Regions from separate parts of the Homo sapiens genome. Here regions 1, 2 and 4 are each linked to region 3. The links are contacts of gene promoters, found by promoter capture Hi-C in human tissues and cell types (Jung and others, 2019). All regions are on one chromosome and are shown on one strand. Each heading gives the region's core, a stretch centred on a gene start or on the middle of the fragment in contact. The rest is flanking DNA. Distances are from core to core; before and after follow the strand shown. Region 1 overlaps AHDC1 (AT-hook DNA binding motif containing 1). Region 2 holds the start of SLC9A1 (solute carrier family 9 member A1). Region 3 holds the start of TMEM222 (transmembrane protein 222). Region 4 overlaps SLC9A1 (solute carrier family 9 member A1).

Evidence for each region. The method cuts DNA at HindIII sites, captures the fragments that hold promoters and counts their contacts. A contact is called where the count stands out against the background at its distance.
Region 1: a contact is called between a fragment that was not itself captured here and the fragment with the promoter of TMEM222 in region 3, in 2 of the 25 tissues and cell types used here (IMR-90 fibroblasts and pancreas).
Region 2: a contact is called between the fragment with the promoter of SLC9A1 here and the fragment with the promoter of TMEM222 in region 3, in 1 of the 25 tissues and cell types used here (IMR-90 fibroblasts).
Region 4: a contact is called between a fragment that was not itself captured here and the fragment with the promoter of TMEM222 in region 3, in 4 of the 25 tissues and cell types used here (H1 embryonic stem cells, IMR-90 fibroblasts, dorsolateral prefrontal cortex and 1 more).

The regions. Positions count from the first base shown.
Region 1 is chr1:27,546,797-27,551,124 of GRCh38, reverse strand. AHDC1 (AT-hook DNA binding motif containing 1) reads left to right here. Exons shown (of 9, transcript NM_001371928.1): 8 at 1-3,864. The coding sequence ends at 3,821. Among named protein-coding and RNA genes, the nearest start is that of AHDC1, 55 kb to the left of the region's middle. The HindIII fragment of the contact is 6,600 bases long and covers 1-4,328 here.
Region 2 is chr1:27,152,459-27,156,712 of GRCh38, reverse strand. SLC9A1 (solute carrier family 9 member A1) reads left to right here and starts at 1,588. Exons shown (of 12, transcript NM_003047.5): 1 at 1,588-2,730. The coding sequence starts at 2,379. RefSeq lists an enhancer at 194-693 and a silencer at 1,639-1,868. The HindIII fragment of the contact is 28,159 bases long and covers 1-4,254 here.
Region 3 is chr1:27,320,080-27,324,251 of GRCh38, reverse strand. TMEM222 (transmembrane protein 222) reads right to left here and starts at 2,089. Exons shown (of 6, transcript NM_032125.3): 1 at 1,861-2,089. The coding sequence starts at 2,054. It also overlaps the pseudogene ACTG1P20. RefSeq lists enhancers at 1,034-1,580, 1,732-2,081, 1,581-2,128, 2,129-2,675. The HindIII fragment of the contact is 11,672 bases long and covers 1-4,172 here.
Region 4 is chr1:27,125,628-27,130,060 of GRCh38, reverse strand. All of the region lies in intron 1 of SLC9A1 (solute carrier family 9 member A1), which reads left to right. Among named protein-coding and RNA genes, the nearest start is that of SLC9A1, 27 kb to the left of the region's middle. The HindIII fragment of the contact is 6,234 bases long and covers 1-4,433 here.

The sequences.
Region 1 (4,328 bases), core at 1,071-3,570, 230 kb before region 3:
CCCAGGCACTCGACCCCCTGCCCAAGCTGCTTGACGTCCCAGGTCGCCGTCTGGAGCCCCAGCAGCCCCTGGGGCACTGCCCACTGGCCGAGCCCTTGCGCCTGGACTTGTGCTCACCGCACGGCCCCCCCGGGCCTGAGGGTCACCCCAAGTACGCCTTGCGGCGCACTGATAGGCCAAAGATCCTGTGTCGCCGGCGGAAAGCCGGACGGGGACGCAAGGCAGACGCCGGACCCGAGGGCCGCCTACTGCCCCTGCCTATGCCCACGGGGCTGGTGGCTGCCCTGGCCGAACCCCCACCACCACCGCCTCCTCCACCCCCTGCCCTGCCAGGCCCAGGCCCGGTCTCAGTCCCAGAGTTGAAGCCGGAATCTTCCCAGACCCCAGTGGTCTCTACCCGCAAAGGCAAGTGCCGGGGCGTGCGGCGCATGGTGGTGAAGATGGCCAAGATCCCCGTATCGCTGGGGCGGCGGAACAAGACCACATACAAAGTGTCTTCCTTGAGCAGCAGCCTGAGCGTGGAGGGCAAGGAGCTGGGCCTGCGCGTGTCGGCTGAGCCCACCCCGCTGCTGAAGATGAAGAACAATGGGCGGAACGTGGTAGTGGTCTTCCCACCCGGTGAGATGCCCATTATTCTCAAACGTAAGCGCGGCCGCCCTCCTAAGAACCTGCTGCTGGGTCCCGGCAAGCCCAAGGAGCCAGCTGTGGTGGCGGCCGAGGCAGCCACTGTGGCAGCGGCCACCATGGCCATGCCAGAGGTAAAAAAACGACGGCGGCGGAAGCAGAAGCTGGCATCTCCCCAGCCATCCTATGCAGCAGACGCCAACGACAGCAAGGCCGAGTACTCAGACGTCCTGGCCAAGCTGGCCTTCCTGAACCGCCAGAGCCAGTGCGCTGGACGGTGCTCACCGCCCCGCTGCTGGACACCCAGTGAGCCGGAGTCGGTGCACCAGGCCCCCGACACCCAGAGCATCTCCCACTTCCTGCATCGTGTGCAGGGCTTCCGGCGGCGTGGGGGCAAAGCAGGCGGTTTTGGTGGCCGGGGTGGGGGCCATGCGGCCAAGTCAGCCCGATGCTCCTTCAGTGACTTCTTTGAGGGCATCGGCAAGAAAAAGAAGGTGGTGGCCGTGGCAGCCGCTGGGGTCGGGGGCCCGGGCCTTACTGAGTTGGGGCACCCACGCAAACGGGGCCGGGGGGAGGTAGACGCTGTGACTGGGAAGCCAAAGCGCAAGAGACGGTCCCGGAAGAATGGGACTCTGTTCCCAGAGCAGGTGCCCAGTGGCCCAGGCTTTGGGGAGGCAGGTGCTGAGTGGGCCGGGGATAAGGGTGGTGGCTGGGCCCCTCACCATGGGCACCCAGGCGGACAAGCTGGCCGAAACTGTGGGTTTCAGGGGACCGAGGCCCGGGCCTTTGCCTCCACTGGGCTGGAGAGTGGAGCCTCAGGCCGTGGCAGCTACTACAGCACGGGTGCACCCTCAGGCCAGACCGAGCTCAGCCAGGAGCGCCAAAACCTCTTCACCGGCTACTTTCGCTCGCTGCTCGATTCGGATGACTCCTCCGATCTCTTGGACTTTGCCCTCTCAGCCTCTCGCCCAGAGTCCCGGAAGGCATCGGGCACCTATGCAGGGCCACCCACCAGTGCCCTGCCTGCCCAGCGGGGCCTGGCCACCTTCCCTAGCCGGGGAGCCAAGGCCAGCCCAGTGGCAGTGGGTAGCAGCGGGGCTGGGGCGGACCCCTCCTTTCAGCCTGTCCTGTCCGCGCGCCAGACCTTCCCACCAGGACGAGCAGCAAGCTATGGGCTAACTCCAGCCGCTTCAGACTGCCGGGCAGCCGAGACCTTCCCCAAGCTGGTGCCCCCGCCCTCAGCCATGGCCCGCTCACCTACCACCCACCCGCCTGCCAACACCTACCTGCCCCAGTACGGCGGCTATGGGGCCGGACAAAGCGTATTCGCCCCAACTAAGCCCTTTACAGGCCAGGACTGCGCTAACAGCAAGGACTGCAGCTTCGCCTATGGCAGTGGCAACAGCCTCCCTGCCTCACCCAGCAGCGCCCACAGCGCCGGCTATGCCCCACCGCCTACCGGGGGCCCCTGCCTGCCACCAAGCAAGGCCTCCTTCTTCAGCAGCTCTGAGGGGGCCCCCTTCTCTGGTTCAGCCCCCACGCCCCTGCGCTGTGACAGCCGGGCCAGCACAGTCTCGCCCGGTGGCTACATGGTACCCAAGGGCACCACAGCCTCTGCCACCTCTGCAGCCTCTGCCGCCTCCTCCTCCTCCTCCTCCTTCCAGCCCTCGCCCGAGAACTGTCGGCAGTTTGCGGGGGCTTCTCAGTGGCCTTTCCGGCAGGGCTATGGAGGCCTGGACTGGGCCTCAGAGGCCTTTAGTCAGCTCTACAATCCCAGTTTTGACTGCCACGTCAGCGAGCCCAACGTGATCCTGGACATCTCCAACTACACACCGCAGAAGGTGAAGCAGCAGACGGCTGTGTCGGAGACCTTCTCTGAGTCATCCTCCGACAGCACCCAGTTCAATCAGCCGGTTGGTGGCGGGGGGTTTCGGCGTGCCAACAGCGAGGCCTCAAGTAGTGAGGGCCAGTCGAGCCTGTCCAGCCTGGAGAAACTGATGATGGACTGGAACGAGGCATCATCTGCCCCCGGCTACAACTGGAACCAGAGTGTCCTCTTTCAGAGTAGCTCCAAGCCGGGCCGTGGACGGCGGAAGAAGGTGGACCTGTTCGAGGCCTCACATCTGGGCTTCCCGACATCCGCCTCTGCCGCTGCCTCAGGCTACCCATCCAAACGGAGCACTGGGCCCCGGCAGCCGCGAGGTGGACGGGGCGGTGGGGCCTGCTCAGCCAAGAAGGAGCGGGGTGGCGCAGCGGCCAAAGCCAAGTTCATCCCCAAGCCACAGCCAGTCAACCCACTGTTCCAGGACAGTCCTGACCTCGGCCTGGACTACTATAGCGGGGACAGCAGCATGTCACCACTGCCCTCACAGTCGAGGGCCTTCGGCGTGGGAGAGCGAGACCCCTGTGACTTCATAGGACCCTACTCCATGAACCCGTCCACGCCTTCCGATGGCACCTTTGGCCAAGGCTTCCACTGCGACTCGCCCAGCCTGGGTGCTCCCGAGCTTGATGGCAAGCATTTCCCACCGCTGGCCCACCCACCCACGGTGTTTGACGCCGGCCTGCAGAAGGCATACTCGCCCACCTGCTCGCCTACACTGGGCTTCAAGGAAGAGCTGCGGCCACCGCCCACAAAGCTGGCTGCCTGCGAGCCCCTCAAGCATGGACTCCAGGGGGCCAGCCTGGGCCACGCAGCTGCAGCCCAGGCCCACCTGAGCTGCCGGGACCTGCCGCTGGGCCAGCCCCACTACGATTCCCCCAGCTGCAAGGGCACAGCCTATTGGTACCCTCCAGGCTCAGCTGCCCGCAGCCCGCCCTATGAAGGCAAGGTGGGTACAGGGCTGCTGGCTGACTTCCTGGGCAGGACGGAGGCCGCGTGCCTCAGTGCCCCTCACCTGGCTAGCCCACCAGCCACGCCCAAGGCCGACAAGGAGCCACTGGAAATGGCCCGGCCCCCTGGCCCACCCCGTGGCCCTGCTGCAGCCGCTGCTGGCTATGGCTGCCCACTCCTTAGTGACTTGACCCTGTCCCCCGTGCCGAGGGACTCGCTGCTGCCCCTGCAGGACACCGCCTACAGGTACCCAGGCTTTATGCCCCAGGCGCATCCTGGCCTGGGTGGGGGCCCCAAGAGCGGCTTCCTGGGGCCCATGGCGGAACCTCACCCCGAGGACACATTCACCGTCACATCCCTGTAGTGCCAACTGAAGTGCCGACTGGACCGCGAGGTTTTGTTCCTGGGTGAGTCTGGGGATGTGGGCGCAGTGGGCAGAGGCCTGGGGGTGGGAAGAGGACATCAGAGCTTAGGCAAGGACAGAGGTATGGAGTGCAGGAAGCAAATGCAGGATTTAAGGGCAAGGCTGGGGACTGAGAGCAGGGTGTAGGGATTCAGGATTCGCTGTTGCGGACAGTCTCAGGAGGAGATGGGGTGCTTGGGCTGGGAACTCAGCAGGGGGCTTGAACGTTCGGGGGGGTCTTGTGAATTGAAATGGCCAGAGGACTACACACTGGATGGGGCCCTGTAGTTTGGTTTATTAAGCTTTCAATTATTTGTTCATGCTATGTCTTGGGCAGGAAGTGAGTATTTCCCAGGAAATACGCTGATAAGGGTGGGCATTTGTATCGCCCTGTGTGAGACAGGTGAAGGGAGAAGCAGGTTGGACGGTCGTCTACCCAGGGCCTATCCAGAGGACCAGCCCTGCTGG
Region 2 (4,254 bases), core at 339-2,838, 170 kb after region 3:
CCGCCTTCCGGGTTCACGCCATTCTCCTGCCTCAGCCTCCCGAGTAGCTGGGACTACAGGCGCCCGCCACTGCGCCCGGCTAATTTTTTGTATTTTTAGTAGAGACCGGGTTTCACCGTGGTCTCGATCTCCTGACCTCGTGATCCGCCCGCCTCGGCCTCCCAAAGTGCTGGGATTACAGGCGTCAGCCACTACGCCCGGCCTAGACAATGGTATTTTAAAAAAGCTTTCCAGTGATTCCATTGTACAGCCATGATCCCTTGAACCTCACCAATTTCAACCAAACTATAGGTTCAAATTTAAGTTCCACTACTTAAAGCATGCCACTGTTGTGGGTTGAATTGTGTCCCGGCAAAAGAAGTTGAAGTCCTAATGCCCAGTGCCTATGAAGATGGACTAATTAGGATGCAGTCTTTGAAGATGTTCAGGTTAAGATGAGGTAATTACGTTGGATTTCTAATCCAATGACTGGTGTCCTTATAAAAAGGGGAAATCTGGCTGGGGGTTGTGGCTTACCCCTGTAATCCCAGCACTTTGGGAGGCCGAGGCGGGTGGATCACCTGAGGTCAGGAGTTCGAGACCAGCCTGACCAACATGGTGAAACCCCATCTCTACTAAAAATACAAAAATTAGCTGGACGTGGTGGTGGGTGCCAGTAATCCCAGCTACTCTGGAGGCTGAGGCAGGAGAATCGCTTGAATCCAGGAGGCAGAGGTTGCATTGAGCTGAGATGGCGCCACCGCACTCCAGCCTGGGCAACAAGAGCCAGACTCTATCTCAAAAAAAATAAAAATAAAAATAAAGTGTGGGCGGGGAATCTGGACGCAGAGACAGAGACACCAGGAGAACTCCATGGAATACCAGATAGTCCTAACAAACCACTGGAAGGTAGGAGAAAGGCATGGGACAGATTCTCCCTCATAGCTCTCAGCTGAAACCAACCCTGCCAACACCTAGATCCGACCTCCAGCCTCCAGAACTGTGAGACAATCAATTTCTGTTGTTGCAGCCACCCAGTTTGGGGTGATACTTTGTTACGGCAGCCCTAGTAAGCAATACAACTACTTGCATAGTAGCCAGGGGACTCTCTTCACCTGTTTCCTCATCTGTAAAAGTGGAATTGTAATAATGTGCCAGGGTGCATTCCAAATAGTTTACACGGATTGTCTCAGTCATTACATCATCCCTCTGACATAGTCACTATTACTGTCTCTACTTAACAGATGAGAAAGTTGTGAAACAGGTTAAGTAACTTGCTCAAGGTCACACGGTAACTAAATACATAAACTAATAATACATTCTTCACAGGATTATTCGAAAGCCCTTATGAGACTGCAGATGTGGACGTGAAATCGTTTTGTAAGTAGTCGGCATTTTACTCGCGTTAGTGAGGTTCTCTGTATATTCAGGACTTTTTTTTTTTTTTTTTTTTGTCATCTCTGACTCTCCTTCCTCTTCCTACGCGATACTTCTTTCCCTCGGCGACAGGGGCCGCTGCGCTGGGCGGGTGCCGACGGTCTCTCTAGCCCGCCGCACCGGCTGCTCGCTGGTGCCTATAAGTGACAGCGCCGGGCTCAGCTAGGCTTCAGTCTGCTGCCGCCGGGGCCGGGGCTAGGGTTAGTTCTGGAGCTGGACCAGGAGGAGCTGCAGCTGGGCCGGGGCGGAGCGCCGCGTCGCGCCAGGGCCGCGAGGAGGGGCGTGTTGCTGCTGGCCCACCGCGAGCCGCCCCCAGCCCGCGCCGAGGCGCCTTCCCGCCAGGCCGCCTGCCTTCCGCCTCTTTCCATTTCCCCGGAATCTCAGCCCGGCGCGCCTGGACCCCTGCCCCTCTCTGGGTGGAGAAGCTCCCGGCCGCTTCCCGGTTTCACTCCTTCTCAGCCTGGGCTCCCAGCCCCCTCTCTCCTTTTCCTGGACTGGCTCTCACCCCCTTCGGTCCCCTTCCTTTAGCTCAGGCTCCCTACCCCTTCCTTTAGCCCACAGCCCAGAGTCCCAGCTCCTCAGTCACTTTCCTCAGCCAAAGGTCCCAGCCTTCCTTCTTCCTTTCCTTTGCACTATCCCTATCCTGCCCCTTCCTCTATCCCTAGGGCTCAGTTTCCCACATCCGTCCTCCCCCTTCCCAGGCCCGGAGTTCCAGACCTTTTGGTCTCCTTTCGTGGTCGTTCCTGGGTCCTTGCCCCCTTTCCCCACTTTGGAGTTCCAGATTGCAAACCCAGCCTCCCTCCACCCCCAGAAAATTGCTTCCATGGAAATGCCTCTCTAAAACATGAACTTTTCCTAGAGACTACGCCAGTCTCTCTTCCCACTTGCTGACCCTTTGCTACCTATGTGCCCGGTTTTACTCTCATTTGGGTAAGGTCGAGGCTGGCTCTGGAAGCAGCACCATGGTTCTGCGGTCTGGCATCTGTGGCCTCTCTCCACATCGGATCTTCCCTTCCTTACTCGTGGTGGTTGCTTTGGTGGGGCTGCTGCCTGTTCTCAGGAGCCATGGCCTCCAGCTCAGCCCAACTGCCAGCACCATTCGAAGCTCAGAGCCACCACGAGAACGCTCGATTGGGGATGTCACCACCGCTCCACCGGAGGTCACCCCAGAGAGCCGCCCTGTTAATCATTCCGTCACTGATCATGGCATGAAGCCGCGCAAGGCCTTTCCAGTCCTGGGCATCGACTACACACACGTGCGCACCCCCTTCGAGATCTCCCTCTGGATCCTTCTGGCCTGCCTCATGAAGATAGGTAAGTCCCGTTTGCTCCGATGCTGCGGCCGCCACCAGACTGGTGAGCTTCTTGCCTCATCTCGCACCATTTGAGGCTGTCCAGGAGTAAGGATCTGAACTACCCCCATAAAGTAGGCAGTCTCCATCCTGCCACCTTGGTCCTTCTCAGGCTCCAGTTCTGTGGCTTCTGATCTGTGATCTGAGGCTTCCCAAGATTGGAGCCAGCACTGTGCACAGAAGAGAGCAGGATTAGAGAATGGGATGCCTCTGATCCTAGGTCCCTTCAGTAAGGCTTCCACGACTGGCAAGTCTCCTCTGGCTGGGCCAGACCCCCAGGGGAGCCAGGCACCCCGCTGTGTGTGAGACAGAAAGGAGTGTCTTCTGGCGAGTGGCACATTCTGCTCTGTCAACAGCAACCAGTGCAATTTATGACAGGCTTCACTGGAGCGTGTTCCAGGATGGAGTATATTTCTACTTGGCCTGCTTGAGGAGTTTAAGCATAGTGGAGACCTGGGCACAGGAAACTTACAAGTGTGGTGGAACACAGGGGATCCCCATATTCCCACCTTTCCTTCATCTCCAGAATGTTATCTGTCAGCTTTGCTTGTCCAGGCTAGTTAGGAGCCCCTGAGTCAATTTCCGGCCCAGGAATGCCATACTTTATAGAATCTGTGGGACAAGGGGCCCTGGAAATTTCTGAAGTCTGTTTTGGAAGTGGAGGGAGAGTAGAGGAGGTTGAGGCTTGGTCTGACCCCAGCTCACCCCCAGGTCGCTGCCTGGCTGTGTCTCAGGGTGCTGTCTGGCCTGCTGCTCAATCAAGTAGATGAGGTAGATGGGGGAGCCTAGGGATGTTCAGGCCTGAAGAGACTTTGAAACCTTCTTTTGGGGAGAAGGAAACAGACAACTTATTTGCTCTCAGAGTATTGGTCTCCCTGCTAGGCCTGAGCACTCTGTTCTGCTGAGTGATTGGGGGAGCTTACTGGAGCCTACATTGCCCAGAAGTCCCTGAAAGTGGTGTTCAGGGGGACTTTGACAACTGCCTTTGCATTTTCAGCTTGCCCCCAGCTGGCTGTGGAAGGCATGAGGTCCTGGGACTCTGCTGTCCCCTCTGCCTGAGATTTGGGTTTGGGAATTTGGCAGGAAACCTTCCAGCTCTCCCAAGGACATGCAGGAGCTGAGCGGTGCTGCCGGGCTGGTGTGAGGCAGGCTCTGGGACATGCAGCGGGAGGGAAGTGGTGCCTCTAATTTGACAGATCCAGGAGCTGGGTTCCTGGTGCAGGGCTCTTGTGCCAAGCTGGTCACAGTAGCAGAGCCTTACATGGAACTAAGCCATCAGCACCTATACCTTGATGGCAGTTAGCTTCCTGGAGAGAAATCAAGGACTGGACAAGGGGAACCATGTGTACTGATTCTGACATAAATGCATGACCTTGAATAGCTGAGGCCTTTTTCTGCAGGTCTCCCTCACCTGTGAAATGGTTAAGACTCTCAATTTGACCACACCAATTGAGTCATGAAATGTCGTCTGATTTGCTGTAAGAAG
Region 3 (4,172 bases), core at 840-3,339:
CCCGGGTTCAAGTGATTCTCCTGCCTCGGCCTCCTGAGTAGCTGGGATTACAGGCATGTGCCACCACCCCGGCTAATTTTGTATTTTTAGTAGAGATGGGGTTTCTCCATGTTGGTCAGGCTTGTCTTGAACTCCTGACCTCAGGTGATTCGCCCGCCTGGGCCTCCCAAAGTGCTGGGATTACAGGCCTGAGCCACCACGCCCGGCCCCTGTTATTTTCACACTAATATTTTATTTTCTTCACAGCACTCATCACTATCAGGTGCTCTTTTATTAGCTTACTTGTTTACTGTCTATCTCCTTCCACTATGACTTAAACTCTCAAAAGTCTAAAGACCATATCTCCTTTATTCATCACTGTATATTCGCATCACCTAGAACTATCTGGGAACACAGGGGTCACTTAGCACATGTGTTAGAAGAACACTGAATGAATTAATGTGCACATTTTCCTAAGATTTTATTTCACTATTTATTTTGAGACGGAGTTTCACTGTGTTGCCCATGCTGAAGTGCAGTGGTGCAATCTCGGCTCACTGCAAACTCCACTTCCCGGGTTGAGGCGATTCTCCTGCCTCAGCTTCCAGAGTAGCTGGGATTACAGGCACGTGCCACTATGCCCAGCTAATTTTTGTATTTTTAGTAGAGACGGGTTTCGCCACGATGGCCAGGTTGGTCTCGAACTACCTACCGATCCACCCTCCACTGCCTCCCAGAGTGCTGGGATTACAGGCATGAGCCACCGCGCCTGTCCCAATATTTTATTTTTAAAGAACAGATTTGGATGCTCTTATATGCATAAGTACTTGAAAACACAAAATAATTCAAGTATTTTAACATAATTCAAAAACTACGATCTTTTTAGAATCAGCAACACCTAAGGCCCCAAATGATCCCTTCTCCACATCACCACTGGCTGTTATTGATAGCGGAACAAGCTATCCCATCAGGTGAGAGTGGATAAGATGTAGTGCAAAGAGCAAGTTAGATCAGAAGACTGAGCTCTTCATGCCTTTGCTTATTGGGGTGCGAACCTGATCAAGACACTTAATGCTACAAGCAGCTCAGCTTCACCATCTGAGAAGATAACCTACCTTAGAAAATGGATGTTTAATTCTGATAAAATGGGTGTTTAAGAGCTTGGCAAACTATCCAGCACGGTGAGGAGGGGTTACGTTTATCAGCTGTCAAGGTTGAAGCAGGAGGGCAAACCACCTCTCCCCATATGAGAGCTCCTCCCAAAAGGCGCCAAGTAGTACCAGAGCACCTGCTTCTCCCCTGACAAAGGCTGATGTTACAGAAAGAACTTTGGTCTGGGAGGCAGACAACCTGGGATCTAAACCCAGTTTGCAACTGAGATGGCACGTGAGACAAAGGGTTGGACTCTCAGATCTCTGGGGGCCCTTCCAATGTTGACATCCCAGGATCTCGTGTGGTCCCAACCAAACTCCCACTCTTGCTCCCAGACCCAGCAGTATGTCTGGAATATGGTAAGCGACCAGTAAGCATTTGCTCAATGAGAGAATAAACCAGTGAATTAATAAAAATGTCTCCTCAGATCCGATAAGGGGCTCCCTCTTCTACACACTCACAGCTCGAGTCTCCCAGCCACTTGCCCTTTCCTGCTGGCCTACAACTCTCTCCCTGGCTACACCAGGTGTATTGAGAGCAGGGAGCGTGTCCCAGCCGTGTGCACAAACTGGCACTACATGGATGGCGGGGTTCTGGTGACTGGGCGAGGCGTGCGGGCCAGACCCGAGGAAAAGGCTTGCTGCGCGTTGGGGCCGGAGGCTAGCCCGGCCCGACTCCGGCTCTCCCTGGGCCCTCCTCGTCCCCAGGCGGATGCCGGAAGAGACTCACGTGAGCACCGGGATGGGCGTCCACACCACGCAGTAGGGGAAGCGACTCCGTTCCACATCCATGGCGACGCCGCCGGAGCCTTGATATTGCTTCATGTCCGTCTCGGCCGCCGTCGGCGCCTCCACTTCCGCCATCCTGGGCGGGGGTGGCGGCGGCGGCAACAAGAGCAGAGAACTCCCTTCCGCTTCCGCCATGCGGCGCGCGCCCCGCTCCGACTGGCCCCGGCTCTGGTGCCGCTCGTCCCCATGGCGTCACTTCCCGGAGATGGGGTCCGCCCCGCTTGGCCTTCCCCCGGGAATCCGAGCCGCGTTCCTCTGGGCCCGGCCAGCCCCGCCCCACTCCCTATGCGCCTGCCAGCCCCGAGTCTTTGCCGCTTATGCCCCGCGGCTGCAGAAGGGATGCTCTCAGGCAGTTCGCAGTCTAGCGCCGGAGACTTATAGAGAACTCTAATTCAGTACGCTGAGGGCTCCTAGGAGGTGTGGTACAGTCGCTATTTATTGAGCACTTCTTAGGTGCCAAGCACTTGACATGAATTGTTTCTAATCCCCATAAACTAATTAGACATCCAAATTAGGTATTCCCTCCTGTTACAGGTGAGAAACTGAGGTTCAAAAGGTGAGAGACCACGATGCAAACCCAAGTCTTTTTTTTTTTTTTTTTTTCTGAGGCGGAATTTTTTCTCTTGTTGCCCAGGCTGGAGGGCAATGGCACAATCTCGGCTCACTGCAACCTCCACCTCCCAGGTTCAGGCGATCCTGCCTCGGCCTCCCGAGTAGCTGGGATAACAGGCGCGTGCCACCACGCCCGGCTAATTTTTGTATTTTTAGTAGAGGTGGCGTTTCACCATGTTAGCCAGGATGGTCTCAAACTCCTGACCCTGTGATCCGCCCGCCTTGGCCTCCCAAAGTGCTGGGATTACAGGCGTGAGCCACCGCGCCTGGCCCAAACCCAAGTCTTATACCTCCCTTGCCCTTTTCATTCTGTGGCCCTCTCACGAGGTAGTGGTAGCATAAAGGAAGACACACACAGTTGTGTGTGCGCACGTGTGTGTGTGTGTGTGTTTTATTGTATATACAGGGAAGACTTGCTGGAAGATAGGATATTATTGAGTTGAGTCTTGATGTTTGCCATGTGGCACAGGAGTGGAAGTATGAGTGCAGCGGTACAAAGAAAGGAAGGCCGTGCAGAGCAGTGTGTGCAAGAGTGTGAATACTTACTGGAGTAAATCATAAGCCTTAGATGTGATCCAATCCCTTCATTGTACAAATGGGAAAACGGGCTCAGGGAAGTTAATTGTTTGAGATCACACACAACCATAATTAGAGAGAAGCCAGGCTCAAATGTTGGAGACTTTTGGCTTTTTAAAGGATGTCAAGACAAAGAAAATGAAGTCTACTGGGGTCTACTGGGGTGGGGAGGGGAAGTTGGGGACAGCCCAAAGTCAGAAGGAAGGCTGCCACTAAAAATCAGCCTTAAAGAAAAAAAAAAAAGAATAAAAAGAGTAATCAGGTAAAGGAAGGTATGGACAAATGCACTCAGGAAGTTAGGAGCTTCCCATTTGGGGAAGGTCCTTCTTCCACTGAATTACCCTCCCTCAATGCTGATCTATGGAGAGCTTGCTGTCCTGTTTGTAGCACCTAATATTTTCATGTTTTTTTGTGGGGGATGTCTGTCTCTGCTATAGAACTCTAAGGTCCTTGACTTCAGTAGCTGGCACAGTTCCTGGTGCAAAGCATATGCCCACTAGATGTTTACTGATTTATTAGGTGATTGAATAAATGGATGTTTTATAAAGACCTCAGAGATTCGCAGGCATGATAATGATTACAGTGGGTTAGAAAATGATTCTAACCCACTCCAAATTCTTTGAGCACGTTTGTACCTCTCCTTGACCCCTGTGCAGTGTGTGATCCTTGAAGGGCAACAACCAGCATCCAGCACAGGGTTTGGAATAGATTAGGTGTGTAGTTTACAGTTGTTGAGAATAAATTACATGACTTCTTGATTCAATCACTGTAGTTATCTAATCTCTTCTGGACCACAGGCTGTGAGGAAGGTCTGTGCCTTAGACATCTCCCTACCATGACTGTCAGCCCATAATTCTAGCACAGGGTTGCTGGGTACCCTTTAAACATTTATTGTAGGTATTGATGAATAAACAACCAAAGTAAGTCTCTCAGGGCCTGCCACAAGTTTGGTAGTACTAATACACGTACCACATTTAATCTGCCAAACTTCAATGGCTTCCCGTTGCACTTCGTATGAAACACAAATATCTTACTATGGCTCACAAAGCCCTGCACCATCTGGAC
Region 4 (4,433 bases), core at 699-3,198, 190 kb after region 3:
GCCCAAGGTCACACAGCAAAGGAGTGACAGACCTGGCAATAAACCAGGGCTCCTGCTCCCCACACCCACCATTTGGTCCAGAAAACTGGGGCTCAGAGCTGCAGGCAGCATGGTTGGGGCCATGGCTCTGGAGTCAGACCATTTCTCTCTGCCCCGGTTTCCTCAGCTGTAGAATGAGGAGGGTGATCCCTGTGTCAGAGGGCTGCTAGGAGAATCGTGATTGAAGTATACAGAGCATCAAAGTGAGGCACTCAATAGAAGGTAGTTTAAAAAAAAGAAGTGGGAGTGGAATGGGGGGGTTGGCACCATGTTCCAAGCAAGGACCAGTTTTGGAGTGGACCATCCTGGGTGTGTGTGCCAGCTCTGCTACCACTTTGCTGTGTAACGTCAACCAAGTTCCGTCCCCTCTCTGGGCTTCATCCTTTGCATCTGTAAAATAGAGGGGTTGCACTGGATGGTCTCAGAGGGCCCTCCCTCTTCTAATCTCTGACTTCTTGCTGCCCCTCTTCTCCCACAGGAGAGAGCTGACCTCCCATTGCTGTTTCTAGAGCCCTGGGCCTTCCTGGCACCAGGACCAAGCCCTGCAGCTGGCCGTGTCCTCATCTTTTCTCTGCAGTGTCCTCTAAAGGGCAGCCTCCTCTGAGCATGCTCAGTTCTCCTATCCACTCTACATCTCGTGGCTCCTAGAGGCCTGAAGTGACAAACTATCCCCAGTGTGGTGGGAGAGGAGGCAGGGAGAGGCCCTCCAAGCATGCCCTGTCTCTCCCACCACACAGAGCCCAGCCAGCTGGATCGTTATCAGAAGTGTATGGGAGACCCTTAGGGGACCCCCTTGAGATAGAGGATCCAGTATCAGGAAAGCTCACCCATCTTGCTGGTATTGTGCAGGAGGCAGTGCCTGCTGCCCATGGAGCCTTAATGCTGTGCAGTTGGACAGCTTCCCCCTCAGGTGCCTGTTTAGGAGAAGCTCTTGCCTCCCTAGTGCTGCCAGCTTGCCTCTGGGACCCTGCCGCTGCTGGTTTCTGGGAATCTAGATCTGCACGGGAGTGTCTGGCATGCGTGCGTGCGTGCATGCATTTGTTTGTTTGTTTGTTTGTTTGTTTATGGAGTTTCCCTCTTTTTGCCCAGGCTGGAGTGCAATGGCGTGAGGATCTCGGCTCACTGCAACCTCCACCTCCTGGGTTCAAGTGATTCTCCTGCCTCAGCCTCCCAAGTAGCTGGGATTACAGGCATGCACCACTACGCCCGGCTAATTTTGTATTTTTAATAGAGATGGGGTTTCACCATGTTGGCCAGGCTGGTCTCAAACTCCTGACCTCAGGTGATCCGCCCGCCTTGGCGTCTCAAAGTGCTGGGATTATAGGCATGAGCCACCACGCCTGGCCTTTTTTTTTTTTTTTTTTAAAGACAGGGTCTCACCCTGTTGCCCAGGATAGAGTGCAGTTGGCATGATCTCGGCTCACTGAAACCTCAACCTCCCGGGCTCAGGTGATCCTCCCACCTCAGCCTCCCTAGTAGCTGGGACTACAGGTATGCACCAGCCATGCCCAACTAATTTTTAAATTTTTTGTAGAGATGGGTTTTGCCACGTTACCCAGGCTGCTCTCAAACTCCTGGGCTCAAGTGATCCTCTCGCCTCGGCCTCCCCCGCTGCTGGGATTCAGGTGTGAGCCACCTCCCCTGGCCTGGGCATATATTTTTGTTTTTGCTTTTTTCTGAGTGTTTCTGTCTCTGTTCTCTCCTCTTACAGCAACGCTGTGCCATAGACATTCTTTATCCCAATGTTAGAAAGGAAGAAACTGAGGTTCAGGGCAGTACCGTGATTTGCCTTATTAGGTCACAGAGAAGTTAAGATTTAGAATTGGGACAGAAACTACCTCCCTCATTGATGGACCAGAGCTCTTTACGCTGCCCGCTGCTGCCTCGTGCAAGCTTGCTATGGCACGAATGCTATTCTGTACCCAGATGCCACAGTTGCTGGCATGGACAGAGATGGTGAGTATCACAGAGCCCGACTTTGTCCAGCTGCAGAGTTCATCAGTCAGATGTCAGAGGTAGAGAGGCTCTCAACAAGCCCCCAAGGATGGAGAGACTGAGACCAAAGAGAAGCAACGGCTTGTTCAAAGCCCACAGAATGTTAGTGGCTGAGTCTAGACTGAAGCCCAGTTCCCCTGATCCCCAGCCTGGGCTTGACTCAGGCCTTTCTTTTCTCAGAATTGTAGTTTTCTGGTCTTTTGAGGCATTTGGAGGTAGGATGGAGGGGGTGCTCACCCATCCTGCTGGTATTGTGCAGGAGGCAGTGCCAGCTGTCCCTGGAGCTGAGACTAAATGGCTGTGCATTTGGACAACTTTGCCCTATGCCAGGTGCTGAGCCTGGGTGGCCAGCGCTGTCTCCCTTGACCACCTCCCTGAAGTGGCAGAATTTCATGTTGTTCCCCAGGCCAGAGCCCTCCAGTGGCTCTGCCTGGCTCAGCAGGGTGATTGGGAATTCTCTCCCTGCAGGGTATTTGTGGCCTTTCATAACTGGCCTTGGCTGAGCGCTGGATTGGGAGTCAGTAGTTCTGGGTTTGGGACCTGCCTCCGCTGCTACCCATGTGATCTTGGGCCTGTGTCTGGACCTCTCTCAATGTCTGTTCTCTCATCTGTTGCCCACTGCCAGGGCATGTTGTGAGGGCGAGAGAAAAGTCTGCTTTACAGCATCTAAGTAATGATTTCCACTCCAGTCCACTGCCATTTGCTCCAATAGAAAGCCTCTACCTGGGCTGGGCTCAGTGGCTCACGCCTGTAATCTCAGCACTTTGGGAGGCAAAGCAGGCAGATCTCTTGAGCTCAGGAGTTTGAGACCAGCCTGGGCAACATGGCAAAACCCCTATCTCTACAAAAAATACAAAAACTAGCTAGGCATGGTGGCACGCGCCTGTAGTCCCAGTTACATGGGGGGCTGAGGTGAGAGAATCACTTGAGCCCAGGAAGTCAAGGCTGCAGTGAGCCATGTTCGTACCACTGCACTCCAGCCTGGGCAACACAGCCAGACTCTGTTTTCCCTGCCCCCTCCCCCCGCAAAAAATAAATCTTCTACCTGTACCACACTCGTTTCCCTGTCCTGTCTTTCCAGATGCTGCTGATTTGCCTGCCAGGCCTTCTTGGTGCCTAACTCTCACCCTTCCTTCAAGGAAAAGGCCAATTCAGCTGGAGCTTAGTGTCCATGTGCTTAGTGCCAAACACTGGAGATTAAGTTAAACCCAAAAATATATACACAAAAGGGAAGGAAAAAAAGTTAAACCAGACATGACTTCTGCCCTCAAACAGTTCTGCTAGCTCAACAAGTCTTTATCCTTACTATGTGTCAGGCTCCGTGCTGAGGCCTAGAGAGTCAAAGATGAATAGGACAGGGTCCCTAGCCTTGCTTGCAGGTAGAAACTTGCTTGTGGTCTGGAGGGGGAGACAGACCAACCAGCTGTGCCGTGTCATCAGACTCTTAATAGAGGGCTGTGTGGTCCCAGGCTCTGCAGGCCACAGAACTGAGCGTGACTGGGTTCTGCTCCCTGGGGTATTTAGGAAAAACTGCTGAGCAGCACCTTGGAAGAGTGGCTCTCCAAGGGACAAGCTGATGGTGACCCCCCCGACAACATCTTGTGGTTCGCCCAGTGCTTTTGTGTTTGTGGTCTCATGTAATCCTCACAACCTTGTGAGGTCACTGAGGTAAGAGAAAGTCATCCATCCAGCAAACATTGATTGTGAACCTCCTGTGTGCCAGGTACAGCCTAAGGTGCCAGGGATACAACAGTGATTGGGACAGAGGCTGCCCTCACGAGGCTTATGTTCTGGGTGGGGAACGGTCAGAAAGCACATCTAGACGTCAGGAAGTGGCAAGGGTAAGCGGATAGAGAGGGTTGGGAGGACCTCTCTGGGGAGGTGGCATCTGAGCAGGGACCTGAAGGAAGGGAGGGAATCTGTCATTCACCTACATGGGGAATAGTGTCTCAGGCACAGGGAACAGCAAATGCAAAGGCCCTGAGGTGGGGGCATGTTTGTGCTCAAGGAAAAGCAAGGAGGCCAGTAGAGCTAGGGGACAGTGAGTGGAGATTCAGGTGTGGTGGAAAGACGCGGAGGGGGATGTAGTCCCTGCCTTTCAGTAGTATGTCTTACCTCTTAAAAAGCTTCACTCTTGGCTGGGCACAGTGGCTCATGACTGTAATCTCAGCACTTTGGGAGGCTGAGGTGGGCGGATCACGAGGTCAAGAGATCGAGACCACCCTGGCCAACATGGTGAAACCTCATCTACTAAAAATACAAAAATTAGCTGGACGTGGTGGCATACGCCTATAGTCCCAGCTACGCAGGAGGCCGAGGCAGGAGAATCGCTTGAACCCAGGAGGCAGAGGTTGCAATGAGCCAAGATTGCGCCACTGCACTCCGGCCTGGAGACAGAG